Linked DNA regions of Homo sapiens: region 1 is linked to region 2. The links are contacts of gene promoters, found by promoter capture Hi-C in blood cells and fetal thymus (Javierre and others, 2016). All regions are on one chromosome and are shown on one strand. The core of a region is centred on a gene start or on the middle of the fragment in contact, and the rest is flanking DNA. Distances in the headings are between cores, read along the strand shown. Region 1 has its middle 15 kb from the start of S100B. Region 2 holds the start of DIP2A (disco interacting protein 2 homolog A).

The links. The method cuts DNA at HindIII sites, captures the fragments that hold promoters and counts their contacts. A CHiCAGO score of 5 or more calls a contact.
Region 1: a fragment that was not itself captured here is called in contact with the fragment with the promoter of DIP2A in region 2 in 2 of 17 cell types (total CD8 T cells and non-activated CD4 T cells); the score reaches 6.3 in total CD8 T cells.

Annotation. Positions count from the first base shown.
Region 1 is chr21:46,617,779-46,621,516 of GRCh38, reverse strand. No RefSeq gene overlaps it. Among named protein-coding and RNA genes, the nearest start is that of S100B, 15 kb to the right of the region's middle. The HindIII fragment of the contact is 788 bases long and covers 2,095-2,882 here.
Region 2 is chr21:46,457,035-46,463,777 of GRCh38, reverse strand. It overlaps DIP2A (disco interacting protein 2 homolog A), which reads right to left and starts at 4,887. Exons shown (of 38, transcript NM_015151.4): 1 at 4,556-4,887. The coding sequence starts at 4,646. It overlaps LOC124905046 (a long non-coding RNA gene), which reads left to right and starts at 5,065. Exons shown (of 2, transcript XR_007067915.1): 1 at 5,065-5,451. It overlaps DIP2A-IT1 (DIP2A intronic transcript 1), which reads right to left and starts at 1,307. Exons shown (of 4, transcript NR_046400.1): 1 at 1,256-1,307; 2 at 1,015-1,066; 3 at 550-712. RefSeq lists enhancers at 3,694-3,763, 5,534-5,673 and silencers at 4,484-4,553, 4,744-5,293. The HindIII fragment of the contact is 4,653 bases long and covers 1,055-5,707 here.

The sequences.
Region 1 (3,738 bases), core at 1,239-3,738, 160 kb before region 2:
CCCCTGACCAGCCCCAGCAAGGCCCGGGGCTGGCTGCCTAGTTGATTGGAGCCAAGAGTTTGCTGAATGGATGAAGGGAGAAGGGACATCCAAGTGACTGAAGAAGATCTTAACAGAAGATTGATATATTCAAATAGAGGCCCCTGTTGACCCACAAGCTCCTTCGTGCTCTGGCCTGGGCAGGCAGCACTGTTGCTTGGGAAGGAGAGCCCCTTCCTGTCATGGCAGGTTGTCGTCTGGGAACCTGGAGCTACATCATCTCATTTCCCTCCATCTGCAGAGTAGACAGAGGGTGAACCACATGGGTGCCTTTGGCATTCAAGGTGCGGTAGACTAGACACCATGGGCCTTGAGCCTCCATCACCCCCTCCCAATTACCTCCACAGTTTCACAGGCTGCAATGCCAGGCAGCTCTCCACAACGCCATGACCACGAGTCAAGTGATAGCTCTTGGCTAGTACAGTAATGTCCTGGGCATTCGCAGAGTCATGGCAGCGTTGCTCACAATGGCACCCTTCTTCCCAAGCCAAAGAGTGCATGGTCTCACTCTCCTGGGAAACACCGTGGTGATCGCCCTCCAGCAACCAGCTGCCTGTTGGCACCCTTGTTGTCTCCTCAAGCTTTTTTATTATTGGGAGGAAGAAGTAGTACACATTATTTTACAGGTGGACTAGTGACATTTGTGATGTCTTATTATATTACTCTGGGGATTTTATATCTTCAGAAAGTAACTACTCATTTTTGGTTTCCAGTTCAACATGTAAGGAGCTAAGAAATCTTTGCTCCATCCTAACAGCAAGTAAAAAGCTGAACAAACTGAAAAATTAACAGCCCCTCTTAGATCCAGTAGAGAAGTGAGGTCACAAGACAAACTATTGTTCCCAACATTGGAGAGACAGACAGGTGGGGAGAGAGAATCACAACTTATCTCCAGCAGAAACCTCCAGTGCCAGGGTAGGAAAACCCGAAAAATTGCTGGAGGCTCAGTGTGGCAAGTCTGAGGGACAAAAACCTCCAGGGGGACCCCCGTCCTGAGGGCCCCTACACTTTTGTGAATTTTACCTCCAGGAGCTCGACCAGGTCCTCACAGTGGATATTGGAGAAAGATCCCCTTGTGCTTCAGCAGGGGGAAGAAAAAAGAAAACATCTTGAGATAGGGCATTCTGTTCTTAACAATGCCTGTCCTCAGGAGCCAAACTGGCTGGGTTACATCAGAGCCTGACCTACCTACTCCAGGTGGCTCTGGACTTTCATGCAGGTGAAGGGAAATACACAATTTCAGCCCCCTACAGCCATCCTGTTCCACTCACAGGATGGGGGAGCACTTGTGAAGGTCACAATTCAAGGGGGCAGAGTCACCACAGACCTAGACCTACTCATAGGACTGTAGAATGCTTTCCCTCCCCCGCACCTACCACCGCATCACTAAAGGTCTTTTTACAGCAGTTCCTTCTAGCCAGATTTCATTTCCAGCCTTCAAAAAACATGACAAGGCACACTAAAAGACAAAAACTAGTTTGAAGAGCCTAAAAAAGCATCACAAGCAGAGTCAGATATGGCAGGAATGCTGAAATTATCAAACCAGGAATTTTGAAAAGCTATGAGTAATATGTTAAGGGATTTAACAGAAAAAGCAGATGGCATGCAAGAGTGGATGGGCAACAAAAGCAGAAAGATGGAAATTCTAAGAAATAATCAAAAATAAATGCTAGAGTTTTAAAACCATTGTAACAGAAAGGAAGAATCCCTTTGATGGAGTCATCGGTAGACTCATGGCCGAGGAAAAAATCTCTGAGAGCTGGAGAACATGACAATAAAAACTTCCAAAACTAAAAAACAAAGAGAATAAAAGCTGAGCGGGAAAAGCAGAACATAATATCCTAGAACTATGGGATAGCTGCGAAAGGTGTAACATACACATAATGAGAATAAAAGAAGAAAGAGAGAAAGGAACAGAAGCAATATGTGAAGCAATAATGACTGAGAATTTCCCCAAGATTAATGTGAGACACCAAATCACAGCTCCAGGAAGCTCAGAGAACACAAATAGGATAAATGCCCTTCCCCCAAAACTAGGCATATCACATTCAAGCTTCACAAAATCATAGTTAAAGGAAAAATCTCAAAAGAAACCAGAGAAAATAAACACGTTACCATAGAGAAGCAAGATAAAAATTACATCTAACTTCTCCTGAAAAACTATGCAAGCGAGAAGAAGATGGAATGAAATAGAGTCATATATCACTTAATGATGGGGATACATACTGAGAAATGTTTCATTAGGCAATTTTGTCCTTACGCAAACATCATACAGTGCAGTTACACAAACCTAGCTGGTACAGCCTGCTATATACCTAGGCTGTATGATACAGCCTGTTGCTTCTAGGTTACAAACTTGTCCAATATGTTACTACTGGATACCGTAGGCAATGAAACACAATAGTAAGTATTTTTATGTCTAAACATAGAAACAGTACAGTAAAAATATGATATAAAAGATTTTTAATGATATACCCATATAAGGCATTTACGATGAACAGAGTTTGCAGAACTGGAAGTTGTTCTGGGTGAGTTAGTGCTTGAGTGGTGAGTGAGTGTGAATGCCCAGGACATTACTGTACTCTACTGCAGACTTATAAGCATTTCTGTACTCTACTGTAGGCTTGCAAGCATTACTGTACTCTACTGCAGACTTATAAGCACCACTGTACTCTACTGTAGGCTTATAAGCACTGTACACTTAAGCTGTGCTAAATTTATTTATTTATTTATTTTAGAGACAAGGTCTCGCTGCATTGCCCAGGCTGTTCTTGAACTCCAGGCTGTTCTGAACTCAAGCAATCTTCCTGCCTCGGCCTCCCAAGGTGCTAGGATTAGAAGCTTAAGCCTCTGCAGCCAGTCATACATTAAATTTATTTTAAAATATTTAAAATATCCTTGCCGGGCATGGTGGTTTAAGTCTGTAATCTCAGCACTTTGGGAGGCCGAGGTGGGTGGATCACTTGAGGTCAGGAGTTCGAGACCAGACTGGCCAACATGGTCAAACCCCGTCTCTACTAAAAATACAAAAATTAGCCAGGTTTGGTTGCGCATGCTTGTAATCCCAGCTGCTTGGGAGGCTGAGGCAGGAGAATCGCTTGAATTTGGGAGGTGGAGGTTGTAGTGAGCCAAGATTGCACCACTGCACTCCAGCCTGGGCAACTGAGCAAGACTCTGTCACAAAAACAAAAACAAAACAAAATTATTCTTTCTTCAATAATAAATTAAACTTAGCTTACCATAACTTATTTACTTTATAAACTTTTTTTCTCATTGACTCATTTGTAATAACACTTAGCTTAAAATACAAACACATCGTATAGCTATACAAAAATATTTTCTTTCTTTATATCTTTAATCTATAAGCTTGTTTCCATTTTTAACAATTTTTAAATTTTTTACTTTTTAAACTCTTTTTTTAACTGAAACACAAACACATTAGCCTAAGCCTACACAGGTCAGAACCATCAATATCACTGTCTTCCACCTCTACATCACATCTTTTCCCCCTGGAAGGTCTTCAAGGACAATGAGACATATGGAGCTGTCATTCTCTATGATAACGGCACCTTGTTCTAGAATATGTCCCAAAGGACCTGCTCGAGGCTATTTTACTGGTAACTAACTGTTAACTAACTTTACATAGATAGATAGATAGATGATAGATAGATAGATAGATAGATAGATAGATAGATAGAT
Region 2 (6,743 bases), core at 3,638-6,137:
GAGATCGCGCCACTGAACTCCAGACTGGGCAACAGAGTGAGACTCCGTCTCAAAATATACACACACACACACACACACACACACACACACACACACAAATATATCCCAGATTTTAGAAATTAAAGACAGTTAAAGAGGAAAAAAGCTTTGTGAGAGAAGTCTCTTCCTGTATACCCAGAGTTTTTTCCCCCTTTTCATTTTATTCCATCTAGACTAGAAGTCCTGCATTGTTAGAATATAAGAAATCAAGAAAAAGACTAAAGTTAAAGCTATGGAATAGACCTATTAACCAGAATAAAGTAATTGGAATGGGATAAAGGTAGCCTATTGTGTAGGAATTTCCTCTCTAACCCACTGTAGTCTATTAAAACAAAGAACAAAATACCACTGTCCATGTTTTTAAAGCAGTTCAGCAGCAATAGCTCCAAGACACGTACAGCACTGGTGTGCCAAAATCAGCTGTGAGGTGTGTCCAAGGTAATTTGTTACAGCAACAGGCAAAGCACAAAGGTTTGGGAATTAATTCTTTTTTAAATATCAAGGTTATACCTCTAATGATCTCACTTCCATCAATGAACATCCTGATAGGTTTTCAGGAACCACACATATGAATTCTTCTGTATGTGTTCATGATTGGGGGGCAGGGGGTCTAAGAAGAGTGGGGTTCCATGTACTTCTACTCTTCATCTTCATCTTAATCTGAAGCAGACTCCTAAGTCAAGAGGGCAAAACAGCCAGAAAAGTTAAGGAGCAAGAACACAGCTATGCCTTATTTCCCTCTTGGGAATCTATAACAGAAATTCAGCAAACTTGCCCTATGGAAATAAATCATAGCATTCTACCAGAACCTTCCCTCAGGGCCAACGCCAATCACTATGGTTGATGATGAGAATGCAGTGAGGATGCTGGAGAATAAGGCCAGGTGTGAGGTATGAAGAAAGGCAGAGGATACTTTCAACAGGCTGAGGGGAAGGCATGCAGGATTTTCTAGATTATTCAGGTATCACTCATTACCAGTTTCTGTTGAAGACAGCATCTTTGTCACTGTTAAGCTTCTTCTTCCAACCTACCAAGCACAGTGACAACTCTTAAGTTTTAGGCAATTTCTCACTTAGATAAATGTGAATGCTATAAAAAAGTTACACTATTTTGACAATATATAAAAATTATAACAATGAAACACTAATGTTGGTTGTTTTAGGACTATAACTCATTACTAATATCTCCCTTTAATTATATAAATAAAACACCTTACCAGTTTCGAAGCATTTTCACACACACTATGTGACTGAATCTTGACAATAAACCTGGAATGTCAATAAAGCTGGTATTCACCCCCTTTTACAGCTAACTAAACCCACGTTTAGAGACATTGTAATCCACAGGAGATTCACAGACACTTTACCAGATGCCCACCACTGTGTGAAGAAGCCAAAAATCTGCCTAAAACAAAGTCCTTACCAGTAAGCATCTCCAAATCCAACAGGGAGAGCCCACGTCAACAACAACCACCACATAAACTACATAAGCCAGCATTAACCTGTGGAAGCGCCCTGGAAGCAGGTCCACGTGTGACTGTGCCTAAGTAATCACTGACCTATTTTGGCCAAAAGAAAAGTGTCAGGCCAGTCTAGGAGCAGGGAAAGAAGCCAAGAAGCCAGAGCTTCCACCTCCTTGGCTGCCACTCTACTACTCTGTTCTCTGCTGTCTTCCCTTTAACACTTTTTTTTGAGACAAGGTCCCACTCTGTCTCCCAGGCTGGAATGCAGTGACACTATAAAGGCTCACAACCTCGTCAGGTGATCCTCCCACCTCGGCCCCTCAAGTAGCTGGGACTACAGGCACACACCACCATGCCCAGCCAATTTTTTTTTTTTTTTGGAAGAGGCAGGGTCTCCCTATGTTGCCTAGGCTGGTCTCAAACTCCTGGGCTCAAGTGATCCTCCTGCCTGGGCCTCCCAAAATGCAAACATAACAGGCCTAAGCCACCATTTCTGGGCTCAATACTTTTTTTGTTTACCCCCTTTCTCAGCTTAAGCTATTTTTCGAGGTTCCTCTCCATGTTACATAATCTTATACCTTTACTTACCTATACATCCCCTACATATCTCTAAGATGACAATAGCATAAATGGATCCAACAGATAGGAAACATTTCTTTCATTTAAGTACTTGTGTTCTGTCGCACAAATTATAAAGTTCTTTGAGGAAAGGATTCAATTGTCAATGCCTAGCAAGCACTCAAACACAACTACAACACAAAAAATTGAGGGAATAATGAATACATTGGAGCAGAAATTAGGAGCAATACGCAAAAATATGTTTGAAATGCACAGAATCTAAACTGCGTATATGTGATTTTCCCTAAAGAGCCTTAACAAATGCAGTACAGTAGATCCTGTCAAACCCATTCCTAATTTAAGTTTGTCAGACTGCCTAGGAGCATCTAATCACCAAGAATTCTCAAATCCATCCATTTCTTTCCTTTTTTTTTTTTTTTTTTTTTTGGTGAGAAGAGACAGGTTCTCGCTCTGTTGCCCAGGCTGGAGTGCTCCAGTGCTCAGGTGATCCTCCTGCCTCAGCCTCCCAAGTAGCTGGGACTACAGGTGCACACCACCATGCCCAGCTAATTTTTTTTAATACTGTAGAGACAGAGTCTTGCTATGTTACCCAAGCTGTTCTGAACTCCCGTCTCCAAGCCAACGTGGCCTCCCAAAGTGTTGGGATTACAAGCATGAGCCACTGTGTACTCAGCCTGTACTTCCATTTTTAAAAATGTGCCACAAGCCAGGCACGGTGGCTCATGCCTGTAATCCCAGCACTTTGGGAGGCCGAGGCAGGCGGACCACCTGAGGTCAGGAGTTTGAGACCAGCCTGGTCAACATGGTGATACCTTGCCTCTACTAAAAATACGAAAATTAGCTGGGCGTGGTGGCAAGCCCCTGTAATCCCAGCTACTCGGGAGGCTGAGGCAGAAGAATCATTTCTACCTGGGAGGCAGAGGTTGCAGTGAGCCGAGATCACGCCATTGCACTCCAGCCTGGGCAACAGAGCAAGACTCCGTCTCAAAAAAAAAAAATGTGCCACATGTCACAACATTGTTAAAAATCTGAATGCTGAATTCAAAATAGTTGCAAGTACATGTTGTATTATATGTAAAACAAGATCACAACAGCATCTACCTCCCTAAGGTTGGCAAGGATTAAATGACTTACTGTATGCTAGTGCATATTATTTAGATGTTTTGAGAAATAACTACCCCAGACCCAGCAAAATCTTATCAATCTGAAACTTAAATTAAGGATAATAAGATTATTTAAAAAATGGATTCTAAAAGCTGAAAATGCATTTAGATCTCAAAAACAGAGTAAGAATCAATTACATGCTTTTCTTCAAGGACTGCAAGTCCTTTCTGACACTGGAGAAGAACTTAACTCTTTCCCAAAGACAGCCAAAAGGAATATCAGGACACAGGCCTTGAAAGGGATAACATCCAAATGGGAAATGCCACCCACCACCTCTGAAGCCAGATTACTCCAGTCTATTTTTATCAACCAACCATTTATACGACTTTTTTTTTTTACTTTAAAAAATTCCATGAGGGGGCTAACAACTCCTAAGTGTTATGTGCTTTGCATATATTAAGGTATTTTAGCCTCATAACAATCCAAAATGGAAAGTGCTGGTATAACCCCACTTTATAGATAATAAAATGAGGCACAGGGTGCAGCTCCTAGAGTATGAGGCGCGCGGCAAGGGCTCCCAGCTCCAAGGGAAGTAGCTGCCTGCGGACAACGGGCGCAGTCATCCTGGTGAAGCCCAGACCAAGCCCAGACCTACAGCCTTGAGAAAAGCGGGGCTCACAGCTTGGGGCAAAAGTGGTCATTCCTCTCAAGATTCTCACACCTGTCCAAACGACCTAGTCAAAGCCAGTCCTTGGGGTCGGATCCCATTGGGGGAGCAGCTGGGGATAGGGAAAGGTCTCCAGAAGTTTGGCAGGCGTCCCGGGGTGAGGAGTAAGGGTCCCAGGTGTGAAGGGCCTGGGGGGAGGAGTCCTTGTATGGGGGAGGGGTCCTTGTATGAGAGGCGGGGCAGTGGTCCCTGGTTTGAGGGGCCGCGCGGGTGTCCCGGGGCTGAGGGTCGGGAGTCCGGAGGGGCAGCGCGGGGCTCCCAGGGTGAAGGGCGGGGTCCCCGGGGTGAGGGGCCGCGCGGGGTTCCGGGGGTGAGGGGCAGGAGGTCCCGGGGGTGAGGGGCGGGAGTTCCCGGGGGTAAGGGGCCGGGGTCTCGGGGCGAGGGGTCGTGCTGGGGTCCCACATGAGGGGCGGGGTCCTAGGGTTGAGGAACGGTGTCTCCGGGGCGAGGGGCGGGTTCCAGGGTAGAGGAACCGGGGTCCCGTTGAGGGGCAGAGGTCCCAGGGGCGAGGCCGCGTGGGGGTCCCGGGGGTGAAGGGCGGGGGTCCTGGAGTGAGGGGCCGCGCGGGGGTCCCGGAGTGAGGGGCTGCGCGGGGGACCGGGCTGAGGGCGGGTCGCGGGGGTTGAGGGCGGGGTCCGGCTCACCTTCCGACAGCTCCAGCTCCAGCTCAGCCAGGCTCTCCCGCACCTCGGCAGGCAGCGGCGCCGCCTCCAGCGGGCACCCGCGGTCAGCCATGGCCAGGCCGGCTAGCGTCCGGGCAGAGGCTGGAACCGGACCGGGCCTGGCGGCGGCAGCGCAAACCTCGGCTACGTAGCTCCCCTCAGGCCAACAACCTACATCCGCCAGGCGAGGAGCGGGAGGCGGCGGGACAGGGGCGCGGCCAGGACAGCAACGCACCCGCGCGGGCACGAGCGCGGATGGCTCCGCCGCGCCGCCGCTGCCCCGCGCGCTCCTGAGCGCCCGGCCGGCCCTACACGGGAGCGCGTGCGCGGCGGGAAGGGCGGGTAGCGAGCGCGCGTGCGCAGTGGGTCTCGGGCCCGCGCAGCCCTCCCGGCCCCGCCCAGCAACACCAGAGCCTCGCTTCCATTGGCCCCGAAGACGCGTCGATGCCGCTCCGGGCTCCCATTGGGAGAGGCGGGAGAGCGCCGCTCCCGACAGGCTCTGCGCTGGGCCTGCTTGAGGGTGGCGGGCTTGAGGCGGGCAGGCTGCTTAGTTGCGGCCCGAGGCGCCTAAGTGGGGATGACCAACCCGTGGGCGTTGGCGCTGACCCCTAGGCGCCGCTGGTGGCCCCGCGCGCGGCCCTCCGGCCAGCCCCGCCCCTCTCGGGGCTCCTCCTTGGTCCCCGCGCCATGGCGCGTCCGCGTTGACCGCTGTCTTCCCTTTCGGGCTGTGCTGATCGCGAACGCTGCGCAGTCCGTGGTGGCGTCGAGGCACCTTTCTCGTGCCTTTACCTGTGTTCACTCCTTTGCTTTAAAAAACAGCCCTAGAAGTACACATCGTTGGCCCCGAAGGAGCCCCAGCAGCCATGTCGGACCGCGAGGTGACCTTGGAGGGCGGGAGGACGGACGAGGGGCCTGGCGGAGCTAGACTGAGAGGGCGCCGCCGGCGTCCTGAAGGCCCTGCTCCCCGAATGTGTGGGAGTGTGTCTGACGGTGCGAGGGTGGCTGTGGCGGGGCCTGAGCAGCGTGTCCGTGTCCCGATGCCGCCCGCCTGTTACTGAGTTAGGCAGGAGTGCCCGAGTCTGGCGAACTTCAGCAGTTCTCGTTCCAGAGCTCCACACGAGGTTGGCCAAAGCTTTGCGGGACTTACATACCCTTCTTCCTCCGCCCAGTCCTGCTTCCTTCCCCTTCCTTTCACGGGTGTTGATACCATGTCAACATCCTCGTACCCCAAACTCAGTCGCAGCGTCTGCTTCTGGAGAAACCATTCTGCAGCATTAAAGCTGGTGAGAAGATGGGATTCGAGGCTGCATCACTCACCAGTGGTGAAGTAGGAGGGTGAACTAGTGAAATGGAATCCACGAGTGGGTGAAGTATCAGACATTTCATATATGGTGAACGTAGTAGATAAAAGGAAGGAAAGGGGGATTGGATAGCTATTGCTTAGTGCCAACCGAGACTCTTAAGAATAGTGGTCAGCTGAAGGCAAGCAACAAACAGTTGTAAGCCAGTGAATCTGTCCCGTTACATATAGAGAAGCTTCATTTACTGCAGCAGGTCAAAGACAAGAACCAGGCCCAGGAATTAACATCCCTGTTTGACTGAACTCCAAAAATAGCAAAACACCCAAACAAGGCAATACTCTTCCACTAAGTTTGGATCCCTGCTAAGAAAAGATGAGGCTGGGCACAGTGGCTCACACCTGTAATCCCAGCACTTTGGGAGGCCAAGGCGGGAAGATTGCTTGAGTTCAGGAGTTCAAGACCAGCTTGGGCAACATGACAAAACCCCATCTCTACTGAAAACACAAAAAATTAGCCGGGCATGGTGGCCACGGCTGTGGTCCCAGCTGCTTGGGAGGCTAAGGTGGGTGGATCACCTGAGCCCTGGAAGTCAGGGCTGTAGTGAGCTGTGACTGCACTCCAGCCTGGGCAACAGGAGTGAGACTCTGTCTTTTAAAAAAAAAAAAGAAAGAAAAGAAAAGCCCGTCATACATGGGTTGGAGATACCTGGGTAGATGCCTTCAAAGGTTTTGACTCCCCAAACTGCCTTAAACCTTTTTTTCGTAGACAGTGTCTCACTCTGTTGCCCAGGCTGGAGTGCAGTTGCTGGATCATGGCCCACTGTAGCCTCAACTTCCTGGGCTCAAACGATCCTCCCACCTGAGCCTCCT